2 separate regions of the Homo sapiens genome follow, and region 1 is linked to region 2. The links are contacts of gene promoters, found by promoter capture Hi-C in blood cells and fetal thymus (Javierre and others, 2016). All regions are on one chromosome and are shown on one strand. The core of a region is centred on a gene start or on the middle of the fragment in contact, and the rest is flanking DNA. Distances in the headings are between cores, read along the strand shown. Region 1 has its middle 21 kb from the start of LINC02222. Region 2 holds the start of BTNL9 (butyrophilin like 9).

Region 1 (4,231 bases), core at 1,592-4,091, 330 kb before region 2:
TAGCTGTGTGTGGTGGCAGGCACCTGTAGTCTAAGCTACTCAGGCAGCTGAGGTAGGAGAATCGTTTGAACCCAGGAGGCAGAGGTTGCAGTGAGCCAAGATCGCACCACTGCACTCCAGCCTGGCGACAGAGTGAGACTCCGTCTCAAAAAAAAAAAAAAAAAAACAAACAAACAAGAAGAAGACATTCACATGGCCAACAAACATGAAAAACGCTAATTATCACCGATTATTAGAGAAATGCAAATCAAAACCACCATGAGATACCATCTCATACCAGTTAGAATGGCGATCATTAAAAAGTCAGGAAACAACAGATGCTGGAGAGGATGTGGAGAAATAGGAAGGCTTTTACACTGTTGGTGGGAGTGTAAATTAGTTCAACCATTGTGGAAGACAGTATGGCCATTCCTCAAGTATCTAGAACCAGAAATACCATTTGACCCAGCAATCCCATTACTGGGTATATACCCAAAGGATTATAAATTATTCTGCTATAAAGACACATGCACATGTGTGTTTATTGCAGCACTATTCACAATAGCTAAGACCTGGAATCAATGCAAATGTCCAACAATGATAGACTGGATAAAGAAAATGTGGCACATATACACCATGGAATACTATGCAGCCATAAAAAGGGTGAGTTCATGTCCTTTGCAGGGACATGGATGAAGCTGAAAGCCATCATTCTCACCAAACTAACACAGGAACAGAAAACCAAATACCGCATGTTTTCACTCATAAGTGGGAGTTGAACAATGAGATCACATGGACACAGGGAGGGGAACATCACACACGGGGACCTCTCAGGGGGTTGGGGGCAAGGGGGAGATAGAATTAGGAGAAACACCTAATGTAGATGACGGGTTGATGGGTGCAGCAAACCACCATGGCACGTGTATTCCTATGTAACAAACCTGCACGTTCTGCACATCTATCCCAGAACTTAAAGTATTAAAAAAACCTGGAAAATGTGTTGTAATCACTATGATCAAAAACCTCTGACCACTGTCCTCTGACTACATCAGGAATCCTTGGGAAGGCATCAGCGGAGCTCCACAATACAGTCCCCGCTTATCTCCTTGGCACCTTCTTTTGTTACTTAGTTAAGACAACCTCTCTCTTCGGATGACCTAATTTGTTTGTAATCTCCCACCACAGCGTGTGTGTTGTGATCCCCCTTTTGATAATGCCACTGCCTCACCTTTAAAAGCCCTCCCTCACTCTATGGAGCCACGCCCCCAGCTACTTTTCTGTATAATTGCCTCTTCTCTAAGCGGATACATCTTAAATTTACTATATCCAGATTCCTTTATGCACTTTAAACACCTTAGAAAGCACAGATAGCAAAAACAGAGTATTATAATTTCTCCGAAATTGATCCCTACGTAAAAACTAAAGCCAATTGTAAAATGCATTGCTGTGGACGTGAATTTGTTTCTCCATATTCCTTTTTAAAATCCTCCTACTGCTCCCAAGTTTGTCTTCCTAGATCAAAAGAAAATGCAGGATTGCCTCAGACCAACAGATATTCCAGAACCTGCCCAATCTACTCTTGGTCAGCATACAAAAATACACGTGCCCTCCAAGGAAATGCTGAGCTGGTGATCACTGATTAGGCTGAGATTCTTTCTGTAACAAAGGTTTACATGCTACATCATGGTGACTGCTACAACTCTATCTTCCCTAGAGAGCTGGCTTTTTGCCCAGAAATGAGGGATGCTTTTAACATTAGTAGGACAGAAGTACCTAACTTACTGTCATGTTATGTTGACATATTGATCTGTTCTATTGATTTAATTATAAACCTGTGTTTTTCTTATCAATAGTCACTCACTATAATTAGTAAGATTATCTAGGACAGAGCTGCCCAGTGGAAACAATGTAAGCAAAGTATGTCATTAAAATTTTTCTAATAGCCACATTTTAAAAGGTTAAAAAAGTAAATTAACAATATATCTTATTTAACTCAGTATACCCAAACTATTAATTCAACATGTTTGAATACAAAAAATTAATGAGGTATTAATTTCATACTGTCCAAAATTTAGCATGTATTTTATACTTATTGTACATTTCAAATCAGATGCTAATTTTTTATTGGCAATACTTCATCGGTATTTAGATTTTATAATAATTACACTCCAAAGCATATATTTACTTATCCAAGTTGTTCCAAGCACACTTTGTTTTCCAATAGCTGAACTGAGAATCAATTTTTTAACTTAGGTTAAATTAAATAAAATTAAATTTCCCTTTCAGTCTCAGTAGCCACATTTCAATTTGTTAAGTATTGGACAGCACAGCCACACATCTTGTTCCCTGAATGAGAATAAATGAGGTAGTCTGCACACCTAGCTCTTTTTTCTGGAGATATGTAGCTAATTTATTTTCTTGGAACACACTGCTGAGCCATCCTTTTAAGGTACACGTGCAGGTTTGTTACATGGGTATATTGTGTGATGCTGATGTTTGGGCTTCTATTGAACCCATCACCCAAATAGAGAACATAGCATTCAATAGGTAGGGTTTTTTTGTTTGTTTGTTTGTTTGTTTTGTTTTTTTGAAATGGAGTCTCGCTCTGTCACTCAGGCTGGAGTGCAGTGGCGCGATCTCGGCTCACTGCAAGCTCCGCCTCCCGGGTTCACACCATTCTCCTGCCTCAGCCTCCTGAGTAGCTGGGACTACAGGCGCCCACCACCACGCCCGGCTAATTTTGTTTTTGTATTTTTAGTAGAGACGGGGTTTCACCGTGTTAGCCAGGATGGTCTCGATCTCCTGACCTTGTGATCCACCCGCCTCGGCCTCCCAAAGAATAGGTAGTTTTTTAACACTTCTCCCCTTCCCGCCTCCCCCCTTCTAGTAGTCCTCAGTGTCTATTGTTACCATCTCTATGACCCTGTGTACCCAACGTTTAGTTCCCACTTGTCAGCGAGAACATGAGACATTTGGTTTTCTGTTTCCGGGTCAGCTCACTAAGAATAAAATCCTCCATCTCCATCCATGTTGCTGTAAAGGACATGATTTCATTCAGGTTTTTTTTTTTTACAGCTGTATAGTACCACATTTTCTTTATCTAGTCCACGGGTGATGGACACCTGGGTTCATGCCATGTCTTGGCTGTTGTGAATAGTTGAGCCCTCCTTTTACAGTTATTTTTGTTTTTGTATGAACACGAGCACAAGTTACCTGCAACGCTTCCTTTCTACCTGGTGTTCACATAAGATCTCGGGAGCTGATCAGTTGTTCCTGTTGTTAATACTTTTCCTTATTTCCACAGGACTTTTGTTTTTTAAATTTTAATTGATATGGGTACGTAGTAGGGGTGTGTGTGTGTGTGTATGTGTGTATATATACACACACATATATATGGAGTACATGAGACGTTTTGCTACAGGAATGTAATGCGTAATAATCACAGCATGTAAGTAAAATGGGGCATCTATCCCTTCAAGTATTTATCCTTGGTGTTACATACAATCCGATTGCAGTCTTTTAGTCATTTTTAAATGTGCAATTAAATTATTATTGACTCTAGTCTCCCTGTTGTGCTGTCAAGTTCTAGGTCTGATTCATTCTTTTAACTATTTTTTGTACCCATTAACTTGGCTTTTGCGTTTCCTTGTTTTGCTTTATCTTTCCAGCTCATATAGGTGGTGATATACATATTATATTTCTAAAAAACATCTACTTAACAGAAGTAACAAAGTACCTGCACATGTGTGTATACTGTATCTATATATATGTGAGGAAAAACACATTCTTGCTTATTAAAATCAATTTGAAAAGTTAAACATGTCATTTGAAATCCACCCTTCCTTTGGATTACACTACACTTCTGATGCTTTCTATAAACCTGAGTATCTTTATGAACTCAGTATCATTATGAACTCAGGGTCTTGTCCCAGTTAACCTGAGTTATCTTTATTATCGTTACTCTCAATCATCACAACGTGGCCAGTGGAAATTCCCTTAAGGTGGCTCATTGCTTTTTGAGGACTGTCACTGATTCTCTTACAAACTTCACTGGATATACCTTGCTGTCCAAATATTTTCTTTCAGCCTCAAAAAACTGGAATTAACTACTCTCCAAAGACTTTGAGTTTACTTTAGTAGAGAATAGTATTAAGAACAAAATATGGGGCCGGGCGTGGTGGTTCACACCTGTAATCCCAGCACTCTGGGAGGCCGAGGCGGGTGGATCACGAGGTCAGGAGATCGAGACCAT
Region 2 (4,184 bases), core at 184-2,683:
TTTGCTGTCCTAGGGACATCTGTTCACATTAATAAGCCTGGGTGCCCAGTCTCACCAGCCTGTCTGAGCACAGACAGTCACCTCCAGGTCCATGCCTGAAGCTTGCTGGCTCCCGTCTCCCACCCATGTAGCGCCCTGTCACCTGCAGAGGCCCCTCTACAAACACAGGCACTTCTGGGAGTCCCTGGGGTGTGCTACTGAGGCAGAAAATTTAAAAATACATATGCCTTCATTCACTCCAAGAAAAGTAACAGGCAAGGCAAGGGTTAAAAAGTAAAGGACAAGTTTTCCTCTGCCTATAGCAAGCCCACTGCAAGGACAGTTATAACAGTGTCCAGAAAGCCAAGGCCAAAGGAATGGGCTCCAGATACCCGCCGCCCCACTTCCAGAGCAAGGTTGAAGGAAAAAGAGAGAAAGACAAATTCTTTTACTGTTACTGTTTTCCCAGGCTTCTTAAGCATGATTGTGTTTTACAAATGTCTGTACTTAGCCAGTTCTTGTTTTTCTTTCAATGCAGCTACAAAGTCACCCGCTGTGCAAGGCCACAAGTTATGCTATGCTATAGATTATGTGACCTATCATGATTAGCTGCTTTTGTTTTATTTATTGTAAGTCCACTTACAAAAACCCCGCTCTGTCTTTGTTTAATGCTCAGCTTTTTGGATGTGAGTCCACTGAGCCGGTGTGTACCTAAAATAAACAATCCTCCTGTTCTTCACATCGGTCTCTCCGGTCCTCAGTTTCCCACAACACTGCATGTGCTTGAGCTGCTCGTGCCTCAGCTCTGGCCTGTTCCCTGGAGGGGACGTCAGTGTGGGCTGCAGCTGGGTGGCTGGTGCCTCAGTCCGCTAATGCCCAAGTTGCACCATGGCCTACAGTAAGATGGGGTGGGCTGGGCTGGGGTAGTGCTTGCTGCTTCTTTTCTGACCTCTTCTCCACTAGAGAAATCCCAATCCAGCACCCTCCTGCATTTCTAAGTTGCACGTGAACAGGTTTTGCAGGTTGCCTCACGACAATGCCCCCAGGATTTGTTCCTTACTGACCTTGTCCTGAGGAGAAGGTTATGGTGGGTTAAAAATTGGTCATCAGCCCCTTCCTCGTGGTTAGTTAGTGGAGACTGCAGTCTACTCTCTTTCACTGTTCGGGGACTGCTACCCTGCCTCCTTGGAGTCCGAGCTTCACTGGCACAAAGACCCTGAACCCAGCTGGAGCGTTTTCTCCTCACTTTGAGCCTCTGCAGCTGTCGCTCTCTACAAAGCTCTCAGATACCTTTCCCCTCCTTCTGTGACCCTGGAGAGATATTTTACATGGGAATTCAAGATTTTTCTCAGAGACAGGATGTGACGACTTCCTTGTTTTGTTCTATCCATCTTGGTTTCCATAGCCAAGGGCAGAGCAAACGGCATATATCTTAGGGTGGAAGATGGATAAATAATTCTGTCACACGTGCCCTGGCCTCTGGAGCTCAGCTGCCAGTCCACGTCTAGGGAATCTTAGCATCTGGGACCAAGACACTTTACAGCAATCATCACCCTTTGCAGAGGAGGTGAGCTCACCAGGACTCATCTGCCATTTCAGACCTTTTGCTGCTACCTGCCAGGTAAGTGGCTCATTCTCAACAGCTGCCTACACCTCCATCTTTCAGAAACGGCAATCAGAAAATGAAGGTGGGAGGCTTTGGGAAGGCGTACAATTAGTGGCACCATTTTATTATCCGAGCTTGGCCGCAGCATGGGATGTTTCGAGTGTGGCCAAGAGGAGATGTCCACGCCCGTTTAGGTGGGCCGCATCTCAGGAGGCAGGATCCTGATACATCCCATTGCCCCCACCAGACGAAAAAGATTTCAAGCCTCATTGCGGTTCCCTTCTTGGGGCAGTCCATCTTCCTTAGAGACTAAGAGGGTGGAAATCCTCTTGTGGACCTATCGAAATCAAACCAGCGCAGGCAGTGAGCACTAGCTGGGGTCTGCCGGGGGGAAGGGCATTGCAGGGGGTGTCGGGGAGGCCCGTGGGAGAGGGCCAAGGCCCCACTGACACCTGCGGACTTGCAGCTTGGGGAGTGGAGGACAGGAGACAGGCAAAATTCACCAGTTACACAGCTTACAGAAGTAGCAAAGCAAAGACTATACTTCAGGGATAATTTCTGTACTTTGTTACTAGAGAAGTTTTCCACTCTGGGACCCCACAGTCTCCGCAGACATATGCAGAGCAAAAAATACTTCCTGTGTTTGGGAGAGCAAGAGACATGGCATTTATTAATAACATGGATTTTCCTGCCAGGTTTCATAACGTGGTCATTTAAGTGTGAAATGTAGTCTTAAAATTATGTTAGAGAATCCCCAAGGTTTTGCTCTGCCCCCATGGAAACACTGGGATCGCTCAGGACGCCAACAGCTGCATAGCAGGCGAGGGACTCCTGTGGGAGGACGTGGCCTGTGGACACTGCCAGGTTCGGAGATGTCCTTGGGAGATTTACTATTTGTCAGGAAGATAGTGTTAAGTTCAGGCAAATAATTATATGTGTGGACAGAATCTGAAATTCACCAATAGAGTAAGTAAGAGTGAGAGATTGTGAATGTGTAATACAAATGGAAAAGCAGGTTTTATTTTGTTAAGTTATTCACCAGGGAACCAACTGAAGTTCCTTCTAATCCTCTTTTTCTCCATTCTTGCTTTGCTGAAAGTTGGAGAAAAGGACATGTGTAGAGAAAATGGGATGCTTCAGGGTGGCTCAGAGGACACCAATCCATAGTGATTCGCCTGAGTTTGTCAGGTGGAAGCAGTGATTTTTAAGAGTCACTGATTAAAAACAAACAGTCCTAAGTGTATTAGGGAGATGCCATTTATTTGTGAATCAAAAACTTTTCTCAGTCTCTTAAATTATGGTTTTCCTGTAATAAGAATGATTTATATTTTTAGTGAAAAGTTGTTTTCCTTTCAAATACAGACTTTTTAAAAAGACTTAGTTTGAGTAAGTACCTTTTCATTTGATGCTTTTCTTGTGCCTAACCTTAGGAAATCCAGAATAGTATTTGACAGAAATTATGTTTTCAACTTGCCTTTGACATCTGTCCCACTGCATTTTGCTTTAAAATTCTTTATTTAACAATAAATTATCTAAAAAAATAACAGTAGCAAAGCAAAAAGTACTCATCTTTAAAGACAGACTCGACGGAGGGACCGGAAATCAGAAAAACATCAGGGTTGTTTAGGAATTGCAGGTGCAGGAGGAGAGAACAGGAGTGGGGCGGGCTGGGGGCAATGAGAGAGCAAGAAGAAAAGAAAAATAAAAAGAGAAGGAGAAGAAAGAAATGGGCTTTTGCTGGGTGCAGGCAGTGACATTTCTCAGGACCCCTTATTTCTCCCTGTGCCTTCCGGAGGGAGCAGCCCAAGGCTCCTGGGAGGACAAGCAGCACGTGCCCGCCGGCAGAGCTCAGCTCCAGCTGGAGGACCCCTTTGTGGTCCTTGCGCACACTGGGTTTTCCTTCTTCCCCAAATATCCGACGCGTCCAGTCCCTTACTCCTTCCCCAGGCAAAACCTCCTCACCAGGAACAACCTGAAATCAATTTACACTGTAATCAAAATAGCAGAGGGTGGAAAGTGTTTCCTTCGAGGAGGGGACTTACGCTTCAAGTAAGGATTGAGCACCCTGGATCCTTAACTGAAGAGTGAGGTCAGAAAGGGCGGACGCACAGCAGCAAACGGGGAGGAGGGTGCTGTCCAGGAGCCGCTGACTTTTCCCTTCAGGAAGCTGCCAGACCATCTCTCTCTGCTAAAGGCTTTCAAGATGATACCCTTGAGTGTTGGGAGCAAAGGGACCAGGTACCTGTTCCTCCTGGCTCAGAAGATGCTCTTGACAAAGTCTTAGGGAGACCTCAGCTTTAAGTTGTTTTATCTGGCAGCGGGATTTTAAATTTTGTATTCATTAGTTGGCTGGTTGGCTGGTTTTGTGGCTGGCACCGTGTGAGCCGGTCGCTTCTTCAGTGCCTCTGTGTGATGGCAGGTTAGGGTGAGTGTTTGGTCTGTGGCCAGCTGGTTCCTGAGACGGTCATGGTTTTGGGTAACAGGAGTGACGGAAGGGTGTACCCAGACACACGACGTAGCTGGTGAGGAATCTGAATTCGAGAAGTGCAGAGCGAGGCTCTGGAACCAGACAGTGGGTGGAACCCCACCCCACCACTCA

What was found. Contacts are between HindIII fragments. The CHiCAGO score rates a contact against its expected background, and 5 or more counts as called.
Region 1: a contact is called between a fragment that was not itself captured here and the fragment with the promoter of BTNL9 in region 2, in 1 of 17 cell types (monocytes). The highest score is 5.0, in monocytes.

The regions. Positions count from the first base shown.
Region 1 is chr5:180,702,934-180,707,164 of GRCh38, forward strand. No RefSeq gene overlaps it. Among named protein-coding and RNA genes, the nearest start is that of LINC02222, 21 kb to the left of the region's middle. The HindIII fragment of the contact is 7,706 bases long and covers 1-4,231 here.
Region 2 is chr5:181,038,833-181,043,016 of GRCh38, forward strand. BTNL9 (butyrophilin like 9) reads left to right here and starts at 1,434. Exons shown (of 11, transcript NM_152547.5): 1 at 1,434-1,600. The HindIII fragment of the contact is 10,345 bases long and covers 100-4,184 here.